Regions from separate parts of the Homo sapiens genome. Here regions 1 and 2 are each linked to region 3. The links are contacts of gene promoters, found by promoter capture Hi-C in blood cells and fetal thymus (Javierre and others, 2016). All regions are on one chromosome and are shown on one strand. Each heading gives the region's core, a stretch centred on a gene start or on the middle of the fragment in contact. The rest is flanking DNA. Distances are from core to core; before and after follow the strand shown.

What was found. Contacts are between HindIII fragments. The CHiCAGO score rates a contact against its expected background, and 5 or more counts as called.
Region 1: the fragment with the promoter of TRAF3IP1 here is called in contact with the fragment with the promoter of UBE2F-SCLY in region 3 in 1 of 17 cell types (naive B cells); the score reaches 5.3 in naive B cells.
Region 2: a contact is called between a fragment that was not itself captured here and the fragment with the promoter of UBE2F-SCLY in region 3, in 1 of 17 cell types (total B cells). The highest score is 5.2, in total B cells.

What each region holds. Positions count from the first base shown.
Region 1 is chr2:238,318,816-238,321,913 of GRCh38, forward strand. It overlaps TRAF3IP1 (TRAF3 interacting protein 1), which reads left to right and starts at 1,703. Exons shown (of 17, transcript NM_015650.4): 1 at 1,703-1,970. The coding sequence starts at 1,848. RefSeq lists silencers at 1,357-1,836, 1,967-2,196. The HindIII fragment of the contact is 10,073 bases long and covers 1-3,098 here.
Region 2 is chr2:238,430,302-238,433,606 of GRCh38, forward strand. ASB1 (ankyrin repeat and SOCS box containing 1) reads left to right here. Exons shown (of 5, transcript NM_001040445.3): 2 at 3,253-3,305. Among named protein-coding and RNA genes, the nearest start is that of ASB1, 5.0 kb to the left of the region's middle. The HindIII fragment of the contact is 1,002 bases long and covers 750-1,751 here.
Region 3 is chr2:237,965,610-237,968,786 of GRCh38, forward strand. UBE2F-SCLY (UBE2F-SCLY readthrough (NMD candidate)) reads left to right here and starts at 1,336. Exons shown (of 19, transcript NR_037904.1): 1 at 1,336-1,523. It overlaps UBE2F (ubiquitin conjugating enzyme E2 F (putative)), which reads left to right and starts at 1,405. Exons shown (of 10, transcript NM_080678.3): 1 at 1,405-1,523. RefSeq lists a silencer at 1,449-1,628. The HindIII fragment of the contact is 5,181 bases long and covers 1-2,358 here.

The sequences.
Region 1 (3,098 bases), core at 453-2,952, 350 kb after region 3:
TTAGTAGAGACAGGCTTTCACCATTTTGGCCAGGCTGGTCTCAAACTCCTGACCTTAAGTGATCTGCCTGCCTCAGGCTCCCAAAGTGCTGGGATTACAGGCGTGAGCCACTGTACCCCTAGAATTCTTTTTTTTTTTTTTTGAGACGGAGTCTCACTCTGTCACCCAGGCTGGATTGCAGTGGCATGACCTCGGCTCACTGCAAGCTCTGTCTCCTGGGTTCAGGTGATTCTCTTGCCTCAGCCTTCCTGGTAGCTGGGATTACAGGCGCCCGCCTCTGCACCCAGCTAATATTTTGTATTTTAAGTAGAGACGGGGTTTCACCATGTTGGTCAGGCTGGTCTCGAACTCCTGACCTCCCAACTCTAGAATTCTATACTTCTATGCTTAATAAATATTTGTGGCTGAATTTACTGGAGGTGGTTATAGGGGGACATGGAAGGAAAACTATAAAAATGCAATTTAGTATTTGTTGATAAACCATACAGCCTGACTGGCATTGAAATTGGTTGTCTGTATAACTTTTCCATTACCAACTGAACTGTGCTAGAAGAAATATTAAAGGAAGTTCTTCAGACAGGAGGGGTATGACACCAGATGGCGATTTAGATCTCCACAAAAAATGAGGAGGCCTGAAAATGGTAAAAATGAAGGTCAATTTAAAAGTTATAATGGGGGCGGTCGCGCACACCTGTAATACCAGCACTTTGGGAGGCCGATGCGGACGGATTGCCTGAAGTCAGGAGTTCCAGACCTGCCTGGCCAACATGGTGAAACCCCGTCTCTACTAATAATGCAAAAGCGAGGCTGGTGTGGTGTCGGGAGCCTGAAGTCGCAGCTACTCATGAGGCTGAGGCAGGAGAATCACTTGAACCTGGGAGGTGGAGGTTGCAGTGAGCCAAGATCGTGCCACTGCACTCCAGCCTGGGCGACAGAGTCAGACTTCGTCTCAAAAAAAAAAAAAGGTTATAATGGTGTTCTCATTAGAAGAACTACAGACCCCAGAGCTCTCAAATCGCCGGAAGGATTTCTGCGGTAGGCCTGTGCATGATGGACAGAGGACAGGTGGTAAAGAATCACGGACACCTAGTAGGACAACTAGGCATGGCTTTGTCCCGGTTTCAGAGCACCGACACAGCATTTAGTCACCATTTACCTTCTTGGGAGGTGGGTTAGGCAGCGGGCACACTAGTCCTGCTTTGTGGGAGCAGAAGTGAAGTCTCAGAGAAAACAGGTGACTTGCCCAAGAAGCCTTATTAATTACCAGCCAGGACAGCGTATTTTCTATTCCGTGTGTTTTGGGATAACTTAGTGCCGTCCCCTCCGATGAACCAGTGCCTTCGAAAGCCCTTGAGATTTGGGAAACAGGCGGCACAGATCTTGGAGGTTACCTTGTTCTTAATCAGTCCTCAGGCAGTCGCCTCTAACGCGAGCGAACACCGGCTTCCCGAGGCCGTCGCTCGGCAGAGGAGGGGCCAGGCGCCCGATCCCAGATCCCCTTTCCCCGCCCCGCCGCGCCCCGCCTGCTCTGGCACAGCCGCACTCCCGCAAATCCCTCCCGCGGAACCCCCACTCCTGCCTGCGCGGGCGCTGGAAGGCGGGCAGGGGGCGGGGCGCCGCGGCGCGTCCGTTGCTAAGGCCGCGCAGCCCTAGTGACCGAACGCCCTGCGGCGGCCGCGCAGGCGCTGTGGTGGGCTCCGGTGCACTGTGGGATGGAAACCGGAGCGGCGCGTCCTGGCAGGACCGGGCGGCGGCGGCGGCGGGGCCGGCGGCGGCCAGGGACCCGGGCTTAGGCTCGGCCAGGCCGGCTGAGGGGCGCGGGCGGCCAGCGGGCGGCGGACGCCGTCATGAACGCGGCGGTGGTGAGGCGGACGCAGGAGGCGCTGGGGAAAGTGATTCGGAGGCCGCCGCTGACCGAGAAGCTGCTGAGCAAGCCCCCGTTCCGCTACCTGCACGACATCATCACGGAGGTGGGCGCCGGGGACCGGGCCCGGCCAGGTGCGGGTCGGGATTCCGGTGGGCGCCGAGGTCAGGGCCCGGGCCGGGTGGCGCCGGGTGCGAGCCGGGCTCGGGCTCAGGTGCGGGTCGGGGGCCGGGGCTGGGCCGGAGTCGGGGCCCGGGCCGGGTGTGAACCGGGTGTGGGCCGGGCTCGGGGTGCAGGTCGGGGACCTGTTCAGGGCCGGGTGTGGGCCGGGCACAGGGTGCGGGTCGGGGGCCGGGGTCAGTTCCGGGGTCGGGGCGAGAGTTCTGTGCGGCCCCTGCCTGGGAGCCCGGCCTGTAGGCCCAATTCCGCGGCGCCCTCCGTGAGGAGGTCCTGCCCCTCCCCCGGCTCCGGGCCGCCGCTTACAAGGAGGCTCCGGGCCCTCAGGAGCATTCTTACTTCTTCCCTGCCTGCCCTTGTATTTCCTTAGAGTGCATCTTCCATTATTGCTGGCAGAGCTGCTTCTGTGACTCCTGCCTCGTCTAACCTTGCAGAACCCCTCTCGCTTGCCCTGAAGTATGTAGCACGTGGAAGGCACTCCCTAAATCCTGGGAGAATGGAAATAATATTTTTTATACAACCCTTCTGCCCCAAAGTTTCCCTCCATACCACATTTTGGGTGCTTAATAAATGCCTGCGGGTGGATTTAGTGGAGGCGGCTGTAGGGGGACTTGGCAGGAAAGACTGTAACAGAGCTGCACAGCCTGCCCTACGTTGAGATTGGTGGTCTCTGTAGCTTTTTCCACTTGCGGATGGTGTGCTCCTCCGTGACGGAGACCCTGGCTTGCTTATTAGCATGGCTCTGGTGATCTGCACTGGGTAAGGTACATAGAAATTGCACAACAAACATCCCCTGTTGAGTGGGACCTGTCAAGGCTCGTGGTAACTCCCTGGTAACTCTCAGGAGCGTCACTGCAGCGGGCGCAGCACCCATTTCCATGGTGGACCCAAGGGCACGTGGGAACTCAGAGGTGTGTTTTGGGATTTAGGATTCAGGTTGGACTTGCAGACTTCCAGGGCCTCATGACCTCACCTGGTGATGGTCCTCAAGCTCTGTTTCTCACTCTTTTCAACAGGTTGGGTGCCTTATTCTTGCACAGACTTTGCTTTACTGGTT
Region 2 (3,305 bases), core at 1-2,500, 460 kb after region 3:
ATCCTTTGTTGTCATTATGACAGTGTCCACAGCATCTTCACCAGGAGTGGATTTCATCTCAAGAAACTGCTTTCTTTGCTCATCCATTCAAGTTTGATCATGCGATTGCAGCAGTTCAGTCACATCTTCAGGCTGTAATTCTAGTTCTCTTGTGATTTCCACTGCATCTGCAGTTACTTCCTCCATTTAAGTCTTGAGCCCCTCAAAGTCATCCATGTGGGTTGGAATTAACTTCTTTCAAACTCCTTTTGATATTTTGACCTCCCATGAATCACAAATGTTCTAAATGACATCTAGATTGGTGAATCCTTTCCAGAAGGCTTTCAGTTCATTTTTGCGCAGATCCATGAGAGGAACCACTACCTATGGCAGCGATAGCCTGACAAAATGTATTAAATGATGATAACACGTGAAAGTCAGAATGACTCCTTGATCCATTGGCTGCGGAATGGCTGTGTTCGCAGGCATGAAAACAGCATGAATCTTGTACATCTCCATGAGAGCTCTTCGGTGACTAGGCATATTGTCAGCGAGCAGTAGTATTTTGAAAGGAATCTTGTGAGCAGTAAGTCTCAACATTGGGCTGAAAATATTCACTAACCATGCTGTGAACAGATGTGCTGCCACCTGGGCTTTGTTGATCCATTTATAGTGCGCAGGCAGGAGTTTTGGAATGGTGAATGAACACTGACTTCCACTTAAAGTCACCAGCTGCGTTAGCCCCTAACGAGAGTCAGCTTGTCCTTTAAAGCTTTGACGCTAGGCATTGCCTTCTCCTCTCTAGCTATGAAAGTCCTAGATGGCATCTTTTTTTCCAATAGAAGGCTGTTTCTTCTACATTGAAAATCTGTTGTTTAGTATAGCCACCTTCATCAATTATCTTAGCCGTGTCTTCTGGATAACTTGCTGCAGCATCCACAGCAGCACTTGCTGCTTCACTTTGTACTTTTGTGTGATGGAGATGGCTTCTTTAAACCTCGTGAACCAACCTCTGCTACCTTCACTCTTTGCTTCTGCACCTTCCTCAGCTCTCTCAGGCTTCATAGAATTGGAGAGAGTTAGGGCCTTGCTCTGGATTAGGCTTTGGCCTAAGGGAATGTTGTGGCTGGTTTGATCGTATCTCCAGACTACTCAGATTTCCTCTATATCAGCAATAAGGCTGTTTTGCTTTCTTATCAATTGTGTGTTTACAGGGGTAGCACTTTTAATTTCCCTCAAGCTCTTTTTCCTTTGCATTCACAACTTGGCTGTTTGGCACAAGAGGCCTATCTTTGAACCTTCCCAGCTTTCCACATGCCTTTCTCATTAAAATTAATCATTTCCAGCTTTTAATTTAAAGTGAGAGATGTGTGACTGTTTCTTTAACTTGAACACTCAGAAGCTGTTGTAGGGTTATTAATTAGCCTAATTTCAATATTGTGTCTGGGGAACAGGGAGGCCTGAGGAGAGAGTGGGAGCAGCTGGTTGGTGGAGCAGTCAGAACACAGACCACGTTGATGGATTAAGTTCATTGTCTCATATGGCACAGTTTGTGGCACCCCAAAACAATTACAATAGTAACATCACAAATCATTCATCACCATAACAGATAAAATAATAATGAAAAAGTTTGAAATATTGCAAGAATTACCAGATTGTGACCCAGAAGACACAAAATGGACACATCCTGTTGGACAAATAGCTCCAAAAGACTTGCTCAGCACAGGGTTGCCACAAACCTTCAGTTTGTAAAAAAACACAATTACGTGTGAAGCTTGATAAAGTGAAATGCAGTGAAATGAAGGCTGCCGGTATTAGGTTGTTTATACTGAGATCTTTCTGGGCAGCTGATGGTTTGATTTTCTTTTTTATTCTGATGAGTGTTCTGTTACCTAGTAGGGTAGGTCTTTTCTCTGTACACTTACTAAAAACCAAAAAAGTTCTTCTCCCTTATATTTTAAAATAAACTTTAGAATATTTTTTGTGACATCTGATAACAAAATCCCAAAGAAATGGGTCACGCTTTATTTAAAATTCCTTGATTATTGAATCTTTTAATCCAAGTACTTGGTGTTTTTTCTGCTTATTCTGTTCTTTTGTGTTGTTTTTGAGTTTTATAGTCTTCATTAAATGGGCTGGATTTATATTTATGTACATGTGTTTTTAACCTTCGTTTTTATTGAGGTGGGACTTCTCTATGGTCAAGTGCACCTGTCTGAGGAGTTTCTTAGGCAGGCCTCCCTGTGGCCGTTGCCCAGGGCAGCGTGGGAGGGAGTCACCCGTGTAGCAGATAGCAGCATTTGCTCAGCCGTTGGATTTTGCCGTATGTCTTTTTTGTAGTGAAGGAGATGACTATGTTCTCCTTCATAGTTGCCCAGTATTAAGATATTCCCAAATACCAGTACTAAGATATTTGCTAGATTCTTTGATACAATATTGATTCAATCTGCTGATATTTTCTTTTTTCTTTTTCTTTTTTTTTTTGAGACCGAGTCTCACTCAGTCGCCAGGCTCTGGAGTGCAGTGGCGCGATCTTGGCTTACTGCAACATCTGCCTCTGGGTCCAAGCAATTCTCCTGCCTCAGCCTCCTGAGTAGCTGGGACTACAGGTGCGCGGCACCACGCCCAGCTAATTTTTTGTATTTTCAGTAGAGATGGGGTTTCACCATGTTGGCCAGGATGGTTTTGATCTCTTGACCTCGTGATCTGCCCGCCTCGGCCTCTCAAAGTTCTGGGATTACAGGCGTGAGCCACCTCACCTGGCTCAATCTGCTAATTTTTTCTTTAGGATCTTGCATCCGTATTCTTCAGGTTTGCCTTATCAGTGGATTCTTTGACACAATATTGATTCAATCTGCTGATATTTTCTTTAGGATCTTGTTTCTTTATTCTTCAGTAGGTTTGGCTTATAGTTCCTGGGCCCCATCAACTTTTAAAAAATTATTCTTGTCAGCGTTGGTGTCAGGAGTGTGCTAATTTAATAAGGGAAGGTTTCTACTATTTTCTGTGATTTATTTCTTTTGTTTTTACAGACAGGGTATTGCTGTGTTGCCCAGGCTGATCTTGAACTCCTGGCCTCAAGTGATCCTGCCTCAGCCTCCTGAGTAGCTGGGATTACAGGCGTGCCACCATGCCCAGCTTGTGATTTATTTCTTGAGCATTTGAAGGTGCCCCGTAGCTGGGAGAGGGAAGGCTCGCTGCAGATGGCACCCCCTTTTGGTTAGTCTTGGCAGGGCCTCCATGAGCTAACAGGAGCCCCTCTCTTCAGTGCAGGTCGTAATCTGAAGGAGTGGCTGAGGGAGCAATTTTGTGATCATCCGCTGGAG
Region 3 (3,177 bases), core at 86-2,585:
AGCAATTCTCCTGCCTCAGCGTTCCAAATAGCTGGGATTACAAGGGCGCACCACCACGCCCGGCTTTTTTGTATTTTTAGTAGAGATGGGGTTTTGCCATGTTGGCCAGGCTGGTCTTGAACTCCTGACCTCAGGTGATCTGTCTGCCTCGGCCTCCCAAAGTGCTGGGATTACAGGCCTGAGCCACTGCGCCCGGCTGAGTTGTGTTCTTGACCAGTTTTCCTGACTCCATTCCCACCGACTCACTTAGAGCCAAAGCCTTTATTATTATTATGGGGACAGGGTCTGCCCTGTCACCCAAGCTGGAGTGCAGTGGTGCGATCACGGCTCACTGCAGCCTCAACCTCCTGGGCTCAGGTGATCCTCCCATCCCAGCCTCCTGAGTAGCTGGGACTACAGGCGCGCGCCACCACGCGGCTAATTTTTTTTTTCTTTTTTTGTAGCGATGGGGTCTTGCCACCATCAGGAGGCTGGTCTTAAACTCTTGGGCTCATGGGATCCTCCCACTTTGGCCTCCCAAAGTGCTAGGATTACAGGCGTGAGCCACCGGGCCCGCCAGCCTCCTTTAGGAAGAAAACCTGATAGTCACTCCACTGTTAGAAACCTCTCAGTGGGGTTTTTCGAAATGAAAGTCTAACTCCTTGTCTCTTTCTGACCGTTTCCATGCTGAACCTCATCTTTCTAATGGCCCACTCCTCCAGGGGCCTGCCTGACGCCCAGGACGGCCCCTCGTCAATCACACAGGACGCTAATGGGCGCGGGATGAATCTGGGCGCCCAAAAGAGGACAAGTTGAAATGGATTTTTAAGGTACTTTAAACACATTTAAGAGAGAAAAGAAGGAATAAAAGGGACATGACAAGAACAGTGGGGCCTGTGGGCGCAGCACACGGTTTGGGGTTGGTCGTGGCTTGCGTGTCTGACCGCCCGGTCTCCCTCACCGCCTGCACTGCAGGCTGCGGGGGCCTGTCCAGTCCTTTGCACTCCAGGTGCGGCGCTGGACAGCGGGAGCTCCAGCCACGGAGGCCGCTCCTTCAGGGAAGGATAGCCCGGGCTCCTCCGTGCCCCTAAACCCTGCAGACCACGAAGTGAACCCGTGTTGGAACCAGGTGCAAAACCCCCAGCCCTCCGGCGCTCGGGCTCCAGAGCCAACTCGGAATCCCCGCCCCTAACGCTACTCGCCAATCAGCGGCGGTTGCGAAATCCGTGCCCGCCCCCTGGCCGCGCCCTCTGCCAATGAGCGAGGTCCGAGAGGCCCGTCGCCCAGCCCAGTCCCGATCGGCGCACGCCGCTGTTCGCGTGTCTGGTTCCAAATAAAGTTTTTCGCGACTTTGAATTTTTTTTTTAAAGCGCCCGCTGCTGTCTCGGCTGCCGCGGGCGAGAGCGGCCGAGTCCCCGCCCCGCCACTTCCGGTCCCGCCGCCGGGAGCCGGTGCGGCTGTGAGGGGCCGCGTCTCGCAGCAGCCGCCCGGACCGGGCATGGTGTTGGGCGCCGGGCCCGCCTCGCCTGTCTCGGGGAGCCCAGGTGAGGAGCGACCGTGCGGCTCTGCGGCGGGGCGAGGTGCGGCCGCCGGTGCACGGGCTGGCCTGCGGGCCGGGCGGAGGGCGCGGGCGGTGGCGGGGCCGCCTCGGGCCCGCCGGGTTCCTCACGCCGGGGGCCTGGCGGGCGCGGGCACCCGGACGCGAGGCCGAGCGGCGTGAATGGGAAGGGGCCGCGGGCCGCGGGCCGCGAGCCGGGGGTCGGAGGCGGCGTCGGCGGCCGGGGCGCTGGCCTCGCCCGGCAGTGAGTGACCGCGGCGGCGGCGGCGGGGGACGGCCCGCGCCGAGCACCTGGTGTGAACCAGGCCCTGGGCCGAGCGTGGCACAGACCTGGCCGCGCTCACGCCCCACTCGCGGGATCGGCTGCCTGCCTTGTACGGAGGAAGCGGGGCGTCCAGCGCCTGGCCAAGGTCACCGGCCCGACGTGGCCGCAGAAACCGGGACTGGACTCCCGATCGGGGCAGGAGTCGCGCTAGGCCGTGAGGAGCGGGGGAGGTGAGGGGAGTGACAACTCGCGCCCGGTCCTCGTACCTGCAGCGGGAAGAGTAAGTATGGACGCTTACCTACAACTGGGGGCGGCCAGGCTAGTTTGGAAAATTTTTACCACAGCAAAGGAGACGAGGAAGGAAGGGCATCTTGGAACAATTAGTGCAGCAGAGTCTTGGTTCCAGACCTAGTTCTGCTGGTGTGTCATCTTGGGTGTGGCCTTCCCCTCCCTGGGCTCAGTTTCCTCATCTGTCACAGGAGAGAATTGGGTCCCCCCACTCTGCATTCCCGACCGCCTGGAAGTGGGGGCAGGATGGGTTGGAATAGCCAGAGAAAGCTTCTTGGAGGAGGAGATGTTGGGATGTAGGTAGGAATCTTCCCCTTAAGGAAGGGGTAGGATTCGTTTGTGAAGGGAAGGAGGGCATTCTAGACCTGGGTATCAGACTGAATAGAAGCTTCTGGAAATGAACAGGGTGTTGTGAAGGAACAAAGAGGAAACTGGCCTGCCTGGTGCAGAGGAATCCTGGCTGAGGAGTGAGATGAAGGCAAGGGGGAGCATAGAGGTGGGAGAGAGAGAGAGATTGAGAGACAGAATCACACCAAGCTTAGTGCTGTGGGGCTTGAGGACCCCCCACCTGGACATACCTGCCTTTCAGGTAGTAGGCAGTGCAGGAAGGGGCAGGTTTACTGCTGAACGTAAAAGGGGCTGGGCTCCAAAGATGGTCGGTCAACCAGCGTACTCCTGTGCCGAGCAGGAGGTTCCTGGGCACTGGCATTCTGTAGAAGAGTGGGATGTGGACTTTGTTGTGCCCTGATCGGGGCCCCTTTGGCTGGGGAAGTTGAGTGTCCCCTAGTGACCCGCAGTCCCATCCTTTATGCTTGGATTGAGACGTCTCCATTCGGAAGGAATTGTAAATAAGTAGCCCCCTCACCTTGAGCTGACTGGCCCCTGGTGTCCCTGCACAAGTGACATGGCCTGGTTTTGCCATTGCTTGCAGGGATGCTGAGTAAATATCACTTGATGGCACTAGTAAGTTGCACACCAGATGCTCTTCTCCGGGCTGTCTGAAAGCAGGTCCCACCCAGAGGAGGAACCTAACTGGGCCAATTACAACTTGTGGAATTTAGAAACTGAGAATGCTGTTCAGAACAGC